2 separate regions of the Homo sapiens genome follow, and region 2 is linked to region 1. Evidence: promoter capture Hi-C in 16 types of primary human blood cells and fetal thymus (Javierre and others, 2016). All regions are on one chromosome and are shown on one strand. The core of a region is centred on a gene start or on the middle of the fragment in contact, and the rest is flanking DNA. Distances in the headings are between cores, read along the strand shown.

Region 1 (7,665 bases), core at 2,279-4,778:
ACTCCTGACCTCAAGTGATCCGCCCACCTCAGACTCCCAAAGTGCTGGGATTACAGGAGTGAGCCACTGTGCCCAGTCGTGTCTGAATGTCTTTGAGAAAGAGACTGCAAATGTGACTGGTGAAAGATTGCGTGTCAGCAAGAGAGTGAGACAGTGTGAAAGGCTTAGGTGCTCTCCCTGACTGGCTCAGCTTATCTCCCAGGCTGTAACTGATTACTTATCTGTCTGTCCCCACTACAATGTCAGCAGCCCCTTGAAGGGTAGAAGTAGGGTCCAGGCCAGGTGAGGTGGCTCACATCTGTAATCCCAGCATTTGAGGAGGCTGACATGGGCAGATAACTTGAGGTCAGGAGTTTGAGACTAGCCTGGTCAATATGGTGAAACCTTGTCTCTACTAAAAATATAAAAATTAGCCAGGTGTAGTAGTGCACATTTGTAATCCCAGCTACTCAGGAGCCTGAGGCAGGAGAATCACTTGAACCCAGGAGGCAGAGCTTGCAGTGAACTAAGATCACACCACTGCACTCCAGCCTGGACAACAGAGCAAGACACTGTCTCCCAAAGAAAAGAAAAGAAAAAGAGTCCAATTCGGGGCTTTATCCCCAGGATTTAAAACAGTGGATGCCACATAATGAACCTTCAATAAATAATCATTCAGATGAATGAGTGAATGAGTGAATGACTTTGTGAGGGAGCATCAGCCTCTGTGGAGGGTCAGTGTGAAAGGTTATGAGTGCGGGGAGAGGAGGCAGACAAGGGATATGGGGAACATATCCTAGGGACATCAGAGGGTTGCAAATCTGAGGGATTTGCGCATCTCAGGAGACAAGGAGGTTGCAAGACCTGAGCTATGAAAACTTTTAGTTTGTCTTTGGCTCTGGTAAACTCAGGAAATGCCCGGGAAGGTGAATGAAAGCCATGTGGGGTCCAGCTCCAGCTGGCGGCTCACCCTGTCTCCCCCCACAACCACATTCACAAGGGGAGCCAGCAGAGGGCCAGAGGCAGGGAGCTGAACCCCTCCAGCAGTCCGGGAGGTCTGGCAAGGTACCCTCTGGGCAGGCAGCTCCCAGGGCCAGGAGCCTCATCTGTCCTGGGAGCTCCAGCAAGGCAGGACTCTAGAGAAGGGAACCAGGACAAATTGTTTTTAAAAGATAACCAATTAAAAAAAAATTTATAATATACATATATATGTGTGGGTGTGTCTGTGTGTATGTATATACACACAGACACACAGACACACACAGACACACACACACACACACACACACACATATATATATATATATATATTTTTTTTTTTTTTTGGAGACAAAGTCTCACTCTGTCACCCAGTCTGGAGTGCAATGGCACGATCTCGGCTCACTGCAACCTCCACCTCCCGGGTTCAAGCAATTCTCTGCCTCAGCCTCCCTAGTAGCTGAGATTACAGGCACATGCCACCATGCCTGGCTAATTTTTTTGTATTTTTAGTAGAGCTGGGGTTTCACCATCTTGCCAGGTTGGTCTTGAACTCCTGACCTCGTGATCCACCCACCTAAGCCTCCCAAAGTGCTGAGATTACAGGCGTGAGCCACCGTGCCCAGCCTAATATATATTTTTAATAGAGACGAGATCTCACTATGTTGCCCAGGCTGGCCTCGAACTCCTGAGTTCAAGCGATCCTCCCGATTCAGCCTCCCACAGTGCTGGGATTATAGGCATGAGCCACCATGCCTGGCCTCAATTATTTTCTGATTTATCTTTGGGAGGAGACCATTCTTTCGCTTAAGAAGAAAAAGAAAAAAACAATTTTAAGTCTCTTTAATGGGCCTTACAGTTATGCAAAGATATGCCACTATCCCTTTGGGAGTGAGGGTGGAAAGAACTAGACTTGCCTGCGTAACAATGAGAAAGGAAGTTGCTTCTTAAGACAGGGTCTACACTAGCTAGAGGGGACAACCAGGACCTGAGCCTCAGACAGGGTCTCGCTCCATAGCCTGTTGCCCAGGCTACAGTGCAGTGGAGCGATCACGGCTCACTGCTGCCTCGACTTCCTGGGCTCAAGCAATCCTCTGGCCTCAGCCTCCCAAGTAGCTGGGACCACAGGTGCACCCAGCCCATTTCCCTTCCTCTCAAGGTGCCTTAAGAGAAGGAGAAGGCTTGAGATTCAGGTGAGGGATGGGCAGAGATCAGAGGCTGCCTGGCCTCCTGGTTTGGCCACAGTCTAGATGCTCAGGAGAGAAGTGCTTACAGGTGAGGCAAACATGAGCCAGGTGGGCACGGAGCTATCTGGGAGCACCTACTGTATGCCAGACACTTGAACTCTAATGGTGAGGTCTGAGGACACAGTTCCTCTACTGAAAAATAGAGACAGGGCAACTATGTTGCCAGGGCTGGCCTCACACTCCTGAATTCAAGCTGTCCTCCTACCTCAGTCTCCTAGTAACTAGAACTACAGGCACCCGTCATTGTGCCCGGCCATTCCACAGCTATTTACATAATTAACTGTTCAGTTACAATTCTGGCAAGCGTGCTGAAGAAATAACAGGTCCTAAATAATTACAGCTAGTATTACAAAGCAAGCGCTGCATGCCAGGCTTACACATACTGCTAACATGTCTACTTTTTGCAACAACCTCTTGTGGGTGAGACTATCATTTGCCTGTTTTACTGAAAGGACAGTGAAGACTGAGGCCTTGTGTGATGGTGCTGAGAGCTGGGCCTATGACGTCCAGCCCTGTAGTCTGTGCTCTGAACCACTTCACCCTGTTTCTTTCTCCATCCTCACAGTAGAGACGTCATCTAAGAGGAGCTTGCAAGTCCAGAGGGCTTCCTGAAGGAAGTGAGCTGAGAATAATATGAAATTAACCAGACCAAGGGCCATTCCAGGAAGAGAGAATGGTACGTGAAACTGCCCAGGAGTAGCAGGGTGGGAGCCAGGAGGCGTGGGTCATGGCAATCTATGTATAAAGAGCTATGGGAATCTATAGGAAAATTTAAGGGAGTGGCTGACACAGTCAGATTTGTGTTGTAAGTATCACTCCGCAGGTTGCGCAGGGAACAAATGAGGGAGCAGAAGGAAGGGGTTCTCCTATCCGCTGCACGGCACTGCGCAGAAGACAGGGGAGCCAGGCATTCCCTGAAGGGTGAAAAGCAAGGAGTAGAGCTGGGTAGTAGACTAGAATTTAGGAGCCTGGCCTGGGGCCTGGGTGGGGCGAAAGAGGCGGAGCCTGAATGGGGTGTGTATAGGGGGGTTGCGTGTAGGGGTGTGTGTATAGGCTGGGGCGGGGTCCCGGGAGTGGGCTGACTGGGTCGGGGGCGGGGCTCTCCAGGTGGGCGGGGATCTTGGCCACCCCTGGCCACACCTCTCTCCGGCTCGAGCTGGTCTAGGCGGGGCGGGCCCGAGGGGGTGTGGCAGGAGGTGGGCGGGCCCGGGTGGGGGGGGGGGGGGCGTGGAAGGAGGGGCGGGCCCGAGCAGGAGGGGGCGGGCCCGAGGGGCGGGGTGGGACAGGAGGTGGGCCGCTCGCGGCCACGCCGCCGTCGCGGGTACATTCCTCGCTCCCGGCCGAGGAGCGCTCGGGCTGTCTGCGGACCCTGCCGCGTGCAGGGGTCGCGGCCGGCTGGAGCTGGGAGTGAGGCGGCGGAGGAGCCAGGTGAGGAGGAGCCAGGTGAGCAGGACCCTGTGCTGGGCGCGGAGTCACGCAGGCTCGAGGTGAGCCGGAACCCTTGTGGGCCCGGGCTGCGCTCCCAGCCGCCAGGGGGCGAGAGGCGGCGGGGCTACGGGGACTGCCCCTCCCGGCGCAGGGGACCTGGGCGTCCGCCGGGCGGCAGGGGGTGGAGGGGGCGGTAAATCAGTAACCCGCAGTGCACACAGGGCCTTTTGTCCCGCTCCGTCCAAAGAGCACCCCGGCCGCGGAGCTGGTTACTCATTGCCCACCGAGGCGGGGGCAGGCTGGCCCTGTGCAGCTACCCTCGGGACCCATTGATTCGCACCTCCCCCCAGGCTGGCCCGGCAAGGGTGGGGGAGGACAAGCGCGCTTGTCCCTGCGGCTGTCTTCGCGCCGGCGGCAGAGATGAGGGACCTGAGGCCCCGAAAAGTTCAGTCACTTAGTGCCCGGGGGCCTCCAGCGCGAGTGCGGGAGGCTGAAGGAGAACCCAGGACTGTCTGATGCCTAAGGCAGGCCCTCCATTCCCACGTGGGGGGTGGTCGGTCAGCGGTCAGCAGCCATGGGTGACTCGACTAAGGACTCTGATATCAGGGCAGCCTGGGGTAGGAATAAACTCCCCGGGCCTCCCCACCCACTCCCAGCCCAAGCTGTGTACCCAAAGAGCTGCCCTCCCTGCCAAGCCGAGCTTGGTAGGGAGTTTTACCAAGGAGGATCCGACTGGATTCGAGAGTTGAGGTGGGCCAGAGACAGCAGTATCTGAGTCAGGTAGAGAAGAGCAATGAGGGGCACAGAGGGATGGGCAAGAGAGCACATGTGCCCAGTTTTGAAAGCCAATGGCTTCAGCGCTCCTGAAGGGGCAGACGGTGTGACCAAAGAGATAGGCAGCGGCAGAGAGGGAGCCCTAGGATGTTGAGCTGGATCCTGCTGGGCACAGGTAGCCATTAAGGGCTTGCAAGCTGGGGGGCATGACATGGCAGACTTGCAGGTTTTTTTGTTTGTTTTTTTATTTTATTTTATTTTTTTATTTTGTTTTTTTTGAGACGGAGTCTCACTCTGTCGCCCAGGCTGGAGTGCAGTGGCGCGATCTCGGCTCACTGCAAGCTCCGCCTCCCGGGTTCGCGCCATTCTCCTGCCTCAGCCTCCCGAGTAGCTGGGACTACAGGCGCCCGCCACCGCGCCCGGCTAATTTTTTGTATTTTTAGTAGAGACGGGGTTTCACCGTGTTAGCCAGGATGTTCTCGATCTCCTGACCTCGTGATCCGCCCACCTCGGCCTCCCAAAGTGCTGGGATTACAGGTGTGAACCATCGCGCCCAGCCGACTTGTAGTTTTTTAAAACTCTGCTGGAAGATGAAGGTTGAAGAGCCGAGGGAGAGGATGTTTCCAGAGGCCCATGCAAGAGATGGCCATGACCTGCCTTGAGAAGGGGCAGGGGAAGCCAGATGGACTGGAAGTGGAGTGGCAGTGACCAAGGAGGAGGAGGTGTGATAGGCTTCCCACGCAGGGTAGATCCAGAGACACCAGTGCCACCCATAGGCCCCTAGGACTGCAGTGGTCACCGATTCCTTTGTCCCAGCTGAGACTCAGTTCTGAGTGTTCTATTTTGGGGAACAGAGGCGTCCTTGGTAGCATTTGGAAGAGGATAGCCAGCTGGGGTGTGTGTACATCACAGCCTGACAGTAACAGCATCCGAACCAGAGGTGACTGGCTAAGGGCAGACCCAGGGCAACAGGTTAACCGTTCTAGGGCCGGGCACAGGGAGGAGAACATTCCAACACTCTGCGTGCCGACGCACGTTCTCTCTTTTATCCTCAAAACAGTCCTATGAGGATAGTAAGCCAGAGAGAGACAGAGACAAGGAATTACAAGTTGGTGAGAGTCAGGATTTGAACTTGGCTCTGGCAGATGGAAAATTAGGGTCTGTATTCTTTACAAAACCGTGTGTGCCTCAGATGGAGTTGGTGCATAACAAGCAGAGGTATCCAGGGTCGCGGTCCTGCTTGCCACGGAAGGGGCCGCCTTGTCAGTTGTGACCACCCAGCCCTGGAAATGTCAGTAATGCTGTAAGGAGTGGGGATCGGATCAGATGCCATCCAGATGCTGAAGTTTGACCTTGTGTCATTTTTCACTTTCTTTTTTGGCTCTTCTGCAATCAATTCATTTATTTAGCAAAAAAGAAATTATGTGTGCCGAGAGCATGCAGAAGATATGTCTCCGTTCTCTGCTTCCCTCCAAAAAAGAATCCCAAAACTGCTTTCTGTGAACGTGTGCCAGGGTCCCAGCAGGACTCAGGGAGAGCAGGAAGCCCAGCCCAGACCCCTTGCACAACCTACCGTGGGGAGGCCTTAGGCTCTGGCTACTACAGAGCTGGTTCCAGTCTGCACTGCCACAGCCTGGCCAGGGACTTGGACACATCTGCTGGCCACTTCCTGTCTCAGTTTCCTTATCTGCAAAATAAGGGAAAAGCCCCCACAAAGGTGCACGTGTAGCAGGAGCTCTTTTCCCTCCCTATTTTAGGAAGGCAGTTGGTGGGAAGTCCAGCTTGGGTCCCTGAGAGCTGTGAGAAGGAGATGCGGCTGCTGCTGGCCCTGTTGGGGGTCCTGCTGAGTGTGCCTGGGCCTCCAGTCTTGTCCCTGGAGGCCTCTGAGGAAGTGGAGCTTGGTATGGCTTCTGAGGTGGGAGAGGGTGGCAGGGGTGGGAAGAGTGGGCACCAGGAGGGGGCTGCTGGGCTGAGCAAAGCTGGAAAGGATCCTTGCCCAGGCCCTGAGAAGGTGGCGGCAGGGCAGGGCTCAACCACTGAGACTCAGTCAGTGCCTGGCTTCCAGCAAGCATTCATCTATCACTGTGTCTGCGAGAGAGGACTGGCCTTGCAGGGCGCAGGGCCCTAAGCTGGGCTGCAGAGCTGGTGGTGAGCTCCTTACCTGGGTGTGTGTGCGTGTGTGTGTGTGTTCTGTGCACTGGGTGTGTGACCTAGGAGGTCCAGGCAGCATGTGTGGTATAAGCATTATGAGGGTGATATGCCCCGGTGCAGCATGACCCTGTATGTGGCACCAACAGCATGTGCCTTGTGTGTGTGTGTGTCCGTATGTGTGTGTGTGTATGCGTGTGTGTGTGTGTGTGTGTCTTGGCCACTGTCGTGTGCACTAAATGCTGTGTGTGTGACATGCCCCAAGAGTGTGGCATTTGCCCTGGGTGTGGCATCCGCAGCATGTGGCTGTGTGGGTGTCAAGGAGTGGTGGCTCCTTCAGCATGCGTTGCAAAGTGCTTGTGCCCTGCATGTGCGGTGTGTTCTTTGTACACAGGAGGCTGCCTCAGATGGGGCTGCGGGGTCTGCTGACCTCTGCCCTCTGCCCACAGAGCCCTGCCTGGCTCCCAGCCTGGAGCAGCAAGAGCAGGAGCTGACAGTAGCCCTTGGGCAGCCTGTGCGTCTGTGCTGTGGGCGGGCTGAGCGTGGTGGCCACTGGTACAAGGAGGGCAGTCGCCTGGCACCTGCTGGCCGTGTACGGGGCTGGAGGGGCCGCCTAGAGATTGCCAGCTTCCTACCTGAGGATGCTGGCCGCTACCTCTGCCTGGCACGAGGCTCCATGATCGTCCTGCAGAATCTCACCTTGATTACAGGTGGTAAGAGACTCTAGCAGGGAGTGAAGGGATGCCTGGGGAGACAGACCTGCCCCTCTTGGACCTTAGATGCTTCCCTCTGTCCCTGATGTAGACTCCTTGACCTCCAGCAACGATGATGAGGACCCCAAGTCCCATAGGGACCCCTCGAATAGGCACAGTTACCCCCAGCAAGGTCAGTAGGTCTCCAAGGACTTGTGTCCCCGCTGCTGCTCATCTGATCACTGAGAAGAGGAGGCCTGTGTGGGAACACACGGTCATTCTAGGGGCCTTCCCCTGCCCTCCAGCACCCTACTGGACACACCCCCAGCGCATGGAGAAGAAACTGCATGCAGTACCTGCGGGGAACACCGTCAAGTTCCGCTGTCCAGCTGCAGGCAACCCCACGCCCACCATCCGCT
Region 2 (7,665 bases), core at 3,328-5,827, 420 kb before region 1:
CTAATGGGGATGAATGGGGCGGGAGGTGCTGCCGAGGGACGGTCGTCCGGTGGCCCACACAGGGCGGAGAGGTGGGCAGATGGAGATGTGCAGAGCCAGGCCCCGCATGCAGCTGGGACGCCTGCAGCTGCCTCGACCGCTGGCCAACCTGGGTCCTGGGGCAGGATGATCAGACAGGGGGATGCGGCGCGGAGGCGGGGAGCTCTGGAATTCAGCTGCTCATGGGGGTGGGAGCAGGCCGTGGGGATAGGGCCCAGTCTAGGAAGTGGAACTGGAGTTCTGGGGTGGCATCCAGGAAGGCTATGAGCATCGGGACCCCAAGGTTAGGCAGGCAGTGTTGGAGGGGAGTCAGTGTCGGGGAGGGAGGGAGACACTCCGGAGCTGAACCTGGCAGCATGGGGCAGGCAGGATGCCATTGTTTAGTCAGTCAACCAACACCAAGTGCTTACTATGCACCAGGCACTATGCCAAGGACTGGTACCCATATGAAGTGGCCAAGACAGTCAAGATCTTCTTCCAGGGATGGGGGGCATAGATGATGATACACGCTCAGAAGAAAGTAAACACGGTTATGTGACAGGGTGATGGAACAGAGGTGCTAGTTGAAGAAGATTTCCAGGGACGTCTGTCTGAGGAGGCAGCATGTGGGCTAAAACCTGTGTGGTGAGGAAAAAAATCATTCCAGGCAAAGGGAACAGGCAGTGCAAAGGTCCTGAGGTAGGAATGGGCTCGGGCATTTCAGGAAAAAGAAGGGGCCATTGCGGCTGCAGTGTGGCCTGTGAGGAAGAGATGAGCTGAGAAATGGGTGGCATTAAAGCAAGGAAAGTCACAGTCAAGGCCAGAGCCAGGTCTAAGGGGTCAGTGGGCGGGACCCCCTTCCTAAGTGGTGTGGACCATACACAAAAGCTGAGAGTGAGGTCCTGTCTGGCTCAACTTGGCCTGAGGACCCAAGGGAAGCCAGGCTTGGGAAGACTCCATCACTGCCTGATCACTGTGCCTGCAAATGGGAGTGGGGAGGCCCTGGGAGTCTGGGCCATCCTTGGCCAGATGCAGAGGACACAAAGAGGCCTTCCTGGCCACTCTAGGAGAGGCTATCCGGCCCCTGCTGCATGCATGGCTCAGTGACCTGTCTCGTCCCACTTCTAGCTGACTTGAGAACCCAGCTCCCAGCAAATAAGAAACCTATTCATGAGTGTTAAAGTTTTTGTTTTTGTTTTTTTGCAACAGGATCTTGCTCTGTTGCCCAGGCTGGAGTGCAGTGGTGAGATCATGGCTCACTGCAACCTCAAACTCCTGGGCTCAAGTGATCCTCCCACCTCAGGCTCTCGAGTAGCTGGGACCACAGGCAGGTGCCACCATGCCTGACTCATTTTTTTTTTTTTTTAGTAGAGATGGGGTCTCACTATGTTGCCCAGGCTTATTTCGAACTGCTGGACTCCAGCGATCCTCCCACCTTGGCCTTCCAAAGTGCTGGGATTACAGGCGTGAGCCACGGCGCCCGGCCTGAGCTTAAAGTTATACAATAAAGCTCAGTACTGAAGCAGGAGGCAGCCAGCCCAGCAGGCAGGGACGCTCTAGAATTCTTTCAGGGCCTGAGACCTAAAACCCACGTATTTTTTTATGGGCAATTTAAGCAATTTTCAAGGGTGATCTTGACTGTTCTTTTGATTTTTGTCATAGGTGCTGACCTCGCTATCAAATACCCAAGTTGGATGTTGCTGCCACAGATCCTGTGGGCTGAGGCGTGCCCTGGACTCTCACGGGACAGGCGCTGGCAAACCAGGGGAGGGTCTCACATGAAAGGACCACAGCAGACTCGTCCCTTTGTCAGAGGAAAGAAATAGAATACTGTTTGGATTACAGATACTAGTAAAATATGATCTTGAAAAAACATTTGATAAATTACAGCAGGAATTTATAATTTAAAAAAAATCGCCAGGCGTGGTGGCTCACGCCTGTAATCCCAGCACTTTGGAAGGCTGAGGCAGGTAGATCACCTGAGGTCAGGAGTTCAAGACCAGCCTGTCCAACATGATGAAACCCCGCCTCTATTTAAAAAAAAAAATTAGCTGGGCATGATTGCGCATGCCTGTAATTCCCAGCTACTCAGGAGGCTGAGGCAGGAGAATCGCTTGAACCTGGGAGGCGGAGGTTGCAGTGAGCCGAGATCGCACTATTGCACTCCAGCCTGGGAGACTAGAGCAAAACTCTGTCTAAAAAAAAAGAAAAATCACAATTTCTTAGCAACTAGAAATAAAAGGAAATTTCTTTCACCTGATAAAGGGCACATATCAGACATATGGAAGAAACTTTATACTTCATGTTGAAACATCAGCAGCAGGAACAAGACAAGGATGCTGACTCAGTGCTACAATTCAGCACCGTCATAGAGTCCTAGCCAATGCAGTAACACAAGAAAATAAATAAGAAGGATAAAAATTAGCAGGGAGGAGACAAGGGCAGGAACCATCTCTGTCCTCTTGTTTCCAATTAAGCAGATACCTAATAAATTTTATTAAATTGGAGGAAAATTCATTGTATCCTTAAAGAAGGTTCTTGAAGGTAACAGAGCAGAATGGATCCTTTAGTAGCTAAAGTCTGAAATATTCAGTGGTCGTCAAGAAGTTCCATTGGTCATGGACCTGCCAAAAAGATAGAAGCACGATAAGACCAGAGAAGCATGAGAGAGCCCTTGGGATGCCAGGAAAATTGTTTTCAAAATAATTGGTGTTGATCCAAAATCAGGGGCATGATGTTTGGGTCGGTGGGGTCTCTGTGGCAGAGGACTCAATGGCCCCTGGATTCTGAAGTGGGAGCACGGGGCTGGGGGAACAAGCCAGGCGGTGTCTTCCAGCCAGGGGGAGCTGCAGGGAGAAGAGGAAGTCTTTTCACTCTTTGCCCTGGGATACTGAACGTCAGAATATGTTGCTGTTTTCCATGGGGTTCTAGAATATTGAGTTTAATTCCCACTTCTCGTTTATTCCCTGCCAGGTTTGGGTTCTTGATGTGTCTATGACACACTCAGGAAAGGTAGCCCCGGCTCAGGGCAAGCTGTGTGTCGGGTACCTACTGCATCTGCCTGGTCCCCATCTCTCCCCCAGCTTCTGGTGGCGGCACCTAGATTTTCCTTTGGGGAGAATCCCTCCCTCCTTGATTTCTGTTCTCCAAAGGGAGTGGCATAGGACCCAGGCCTGACATCAGCACATTCCATGGCCTTGGCTGTGGAGAGGCACAAAGGATGCCTGCTCCTGGGTCCTCACTGGGACAGAGAGGCTCCGCTCCCTCCCTTGGAGTTCTAAAAGCTGTTGGTGACCACCTTCCTGCCTGTGGTCCCAGAGTGAGGCTGACAGAGAAACATAGAGTCCAGAGAAGGTGGGCAACCTTGGCTTGGTGATGGCACTTGAGCTGTAGGTGTAGCCATATCTTATGGCAGAGCCATTGTTTTGTCTAAGGGGGTCCGAGCTGGGTTTCTGTCATCTTCAACTGAAAGTCCTGATGGACATAGTGGGAAAGAAGGGAGAAGCTGAAGGCCTGGGTCAGACATGCCCTGTCTCGGGGGTGGGGGCGAGATGCAAACCACTTCCAGATGGAGCCCAAGCTTCTTCCTCTGTCCCATAGCGCCCCTCCCAAGGGAGCTGATCCCGAGATCCCTAGAGGAGTGGAGGAATGATCAGGCATCATGCTAAGGAGTTTTTGTAAAGTCAATTTATTGAGTCTAATTTACATACATCGAAGTCTCCACACTTTAGGTGCATATTTCAGTGGGTTTTACAAATTTATTCCCCTGTGTAACCACCAAGATAGAGAACATTTCCATCACCCAGAAGGTGCCCTGTGGTCCTTCTATGTCAATCTCTGCTCCTACCCTGCTGCCAAACAAACATTGAGCTGCTTTCTGTCACTGCGGGTTAGATTTCTATTTTTTTCTCTAAAGTTTTGCATATAGTCAATCCTCAGTATTCACGGATTCCATATTTGTGAAGTTGATGACTTGCAAAAATTTATTTGTAACCCCCAGATCAATCCTCGTGGCACTTTTGTGATCATTCCTGGACATCAGCAGAGCACTGAGAAGTTTCGTTTGTGGATGCACACATTTCCTGCGGAGGTCAAACTCAACGAGCGACTTTCCCCCGTCTACTCAGGGCCACCTTTCCCGCATTTTTGTACTTTTTGTTGGGGATTTCGCTGTTGAAAATGGCCCTCAAGCATCAGAGTGAGGCCCTGGCTGGTGCTCCTTGATGCTAGAAGGCTGCGATGTGTCTTACAGAGAAAATGCATGTGTTGGATGAGCTTTGCTCAGTCATGAGTTATAGTTCTGTGGCCATGAGTTCATGCTCACAGATCAACAGCCTCTATATTAAATAAGGTGTCTTTAAACATAAGAACACATGCCACAGATGTATGCATTGGTCAGGTGACCAAAATCTTGTGAGCAGAGGATCTCAGGAACCTAACTCTGCATTTCCCTGGGAGCAATGCTTCCATACCAGTGAATTCAGTGTTCCCGGGAATGTCACAGAACATTACTGCCAGGCATGAGAGCCGGTCATATATGCAGTCATACAGATGCCACCTTTTGAGTCCGGTTTCTGTCACTTAGCATGACGCTGCTGAGATTCATCCCTGTTGTTCTTTTTGTTGCTGAGGAGTATTCCATTGTGGGGCTACGCCAGCTTCTCCATTCACTCAGCAGTTGATGGAGCATTTGGGTTCTTTCCAGTTTTTGGTGATCATGAACAAAGCTGCTGTGAACTTTCGTGTACAAATCCATGTGTGGACATATGTTTTCATTTCCATTCTAAGTGTCAGCTTAGGAGCACATACATTTATTACTTGCTTAATGCTTGCAGTAGCCCTGCAAAGCAGCCTCATTTTATGCATAAGGAGCTGGGCTCGGAGCAGAGCTATGGTGGCCTGCTGAATATCACATGGCTCACAGCAACTGGCACTGGCGCACAATCTCTTCCCTGGGGGAGGCCTGGGGGTCCCTATTCAGAGTGGCCCCATGGTGGGTGGGAGGGCCTTGGCTCTGTCATTGCCTCTCCAGGGGCCTAGAGGTCCTCAGCTGCAAAGTGCAGATTCAGTCCCCTCTGAGATCCCTGAGCTCCAAGCCTGTGATTATGGGGCCTGAGCCACAGCAGCGGGCTGCACCCCAGCCCCACTGCAGCCCTTCACAGGCTGAGCAGGGCTACAGCCAAGACTGACAGGCTGGGTGGGCTGGCTGGCTGGCTTCTAGGGCTTCAGCTGCCCTGAATACATTCCCCTGCTGGAGGTGACGCCACCGGCTTTTGCTTTGGGGGCTCATCCTCCTCTAGCATTTGCAGGGGATGAGCTGCCACCAAGGCCTTACACTCTCTGGAGGAGCTCCACATGCTGAGGGCTTGGCTTGTCTGGCCCTTCTCTATGGTGGGGCTTTGATCCCTGTGCAGAGAACTGACACAGGGACTGAGAAATGGCCAGAGCAGGCTCTAGGCAGCCTTTGCTCTGCACCCTTTCCAGGTTTCTGTGTCCCAGCCATCCAGTGAGCTGCCTGACAACCTCCCAAAGCCTCGCAGAAGCTTTCCGTTGCTTGCGCTCAGCGATCCCTGCATGCCACAGTGGATGCTCCCCTCCCTCGAGCCCCTGAGGCCTCAGCACCAGCTTGTCTCTTAGCAGGCTCTTCCCCTGGACTCCACCTCCTGCCCATCTGTTGGCTCAAGGAAGCCCTGGACTGGGGACAGCCTGGTACTTGACAGCAACTGATGCAGAGGGAAGAGCCCCAGGTCCGGGGAACGAGGACGAAGATCTGGGTGCTGAGTTGTTGCTTGTCCTCTGGGGCTCATCTTCCTCATCTCTAAAATGGGTACCATTTCCACAGTTTCATTCATTGTCATTGACCCCATCTCCTGTGGGTCCCGGCACTGTCCCTGAGGCTGGAAATCAGGGGAGGAGAGGGGCCCAGACAGGCCCCTGCCCTGATGGAGGAGAGGCAGATGCACTGTTGCAGATCTTGGAGATGACAGAGGAAGTCCCAATGCTCTGGGGACCAACTTGGGGCATTGTCCATGTTTTGGCCAGTCCTGGTACCAAAAACTGACTTTGACTACTATTTTTTTTTTTTTTTTTGACAGAGTCTCTCTCTGTTGCCCAAGCTGCAGTGCACTGGTGCAATCTTGGCTTACTGCAACTGCCTCCCAGGTTCAGGTGATTCTCCTGCTTCAGCCTCCCAAGCAGCTGGGATTACAGGCACCTGCCACCACACCTGGTTAATTTTTTTTTTTTTTTTTTTTTTTTGTATTTTTAGTAGAGATGGAGTTTCACCATGTTGACCAGGTTGGTCTTGAACTCCTAACCTCAAATAATCCACCTGCCTCAGCCTCCCAAAGTGTTGGGATTACAGGTGTGAGCCACAGTGCCCGGCCTGACTTTGACTGCCTTAATGCAAGGGGGAATTAATTGGAAGGAAAGGGCAGAAGTCAGGGCCACGCTGGGGAGCTGGGTGGTGAGAACTGAAGGAAAGTCTCTTTAGGGTGTGGCCACTCAGATAAGAAATCCTGCTGAGATTCAAAATTGCACAGAGGGGTGAGTACCCACCAGGGTGGAGGGTGGGTCTCATGACTGGCAGGCTGCCAAGCTGGCCTGCAGTGGGCTCCCCGAAATGTGGGGGAAATGCAGGGAAGGAAAAAGTCCTAAGTGTCCCCTGGTTGGGTGGAGTGGGAGAGTGGTGTCAGGTGAGGCTTGCCGGAAGCACTCAAATGCATGGGAAACAGAACTGTGAACTCCAAGGGGCAGAAACAGCAGAAGGCTTCGGCACTGTGAGCCTCAGAAGTGGCCGGCACCTACCCAGTGGCCAGCCCAGGGAAGGACTTCCCACCTGTTCTCTGATCCAGCGTCTCCACACGGGGGACACTTGTGAAGTTTACGTGGGACGAAAGAAGCCCAGCACATGGGCCTTGGCAGTCCCACCTGGCCCCACCTGCTAGGAATTTAGAAGAGAGCTGCAGAGACCTGGCACACACAAGGCTACCGTCCAGTCACTGAGGTGTGTGGCAAGGGCTGGGGAATGCCCGAAGAGGCGACCCACCTGGACGGCAGGCAGGGGCTTTCAAAGGAGGCCAGGAAGGCTGAGCAGTGTAGGGCCAAGGCTGTGGCAGAAAGGAGGGCATTCCTTGCGTGAGAGACCCTGGGTTTTGATTCTTGGGCCCTGGCTCTACCCTGTGGACCTTGGAGGGAGCAGGGGCCTGGGCAAACAGAGGTGACCTGGGGGTGCGGCAGGAAGGGGAGGGTGGGGTTGGGGAAGAGCTGTTGTGCGGGGCAGGCAGTGGGGAGGCGAGGAGATGGGGTAGGGGGTATGCAGGCCCCTGCAGGTCCTGCAGAGGACACCCCAAGGTTACCTTGGCCTGTGGCTCCGCGGCTCAAGGCTGCTGGCAGCAATGACAACAGCGAACCAGCAGCCTCTCCGAGTTTTATTATCATTCAAATGAGGACGTGGAGAGGTATTTCATTTGATTGGTAGAATAATAGGAGCCATTTATCTACCTTCTCTCAACCTTTCATATCTGTTTCACTATTTTATGGGATCGCATACATCATAGTAAAGGCAAAAATGTATTTTTTTCCCTTGACTTGGGGCTGGGGGGGGCAGCAGGGATGGGAAGGAGGCTCTCAGAGTGGCTGGCAGGA

What was found. The method cuts DNA at HindIII sites, captures the fragments that hold promoters and counts their contacts. A CHiCAGO score of 5 or more calls a contact.
Region 2: a contact is called between a fragment that was not itself captured here and the fragment with the promoter of FGFR4 in region 1, in 1 of 17 cell types (endothelial precursors). The highest score is 5.6, in endothelial precursors.

What each region holds. Positions count from the first base shown.
Region 1 is chr5:177,083,387-177,091,051 of GRCh38, forward strand. FGFR4 (fibroblast growth factor receptor 4) reads left to right here and starts at 3,529. Exons shown (of 18, transcript NM_213647.3): 1 at 3,529-3,691; 2 at 6,164-6,307; 3 at 7,004-7,267; 4 at 7,359-7,439; 5 at 7,552-7,665. The coding sequence starts at 6,217. RefSeq lists silencers at 3,140-3,189, 3,440-3,899, a promoter at 3,410-3,629 and an enhancer at 3,595-4,045. The HindIII fragment of the contact is 20,491 bases long and covers 1-7,665 here.
Region 2 is chr5:176,664,997-176,672,661 of GRCh38, forward strand. It overlaps LOC124901144 (a long non-coding RNA gene), which reads left to right. Exons shown (of 2, transcript XR_007059072.1): 2 at 1,681-2,531. Among named protein-coding and RNA genes, the nearest start is that of TSPAN17, 21 kb to the left of the region's middle. RefSeq lists a silencer at 1,388-1,614 and enhancers at 6,604-7,169, 7,170-7,665. The HindIII fragment of the contact is 1,963 bases long and covers 3,597-5,559 here.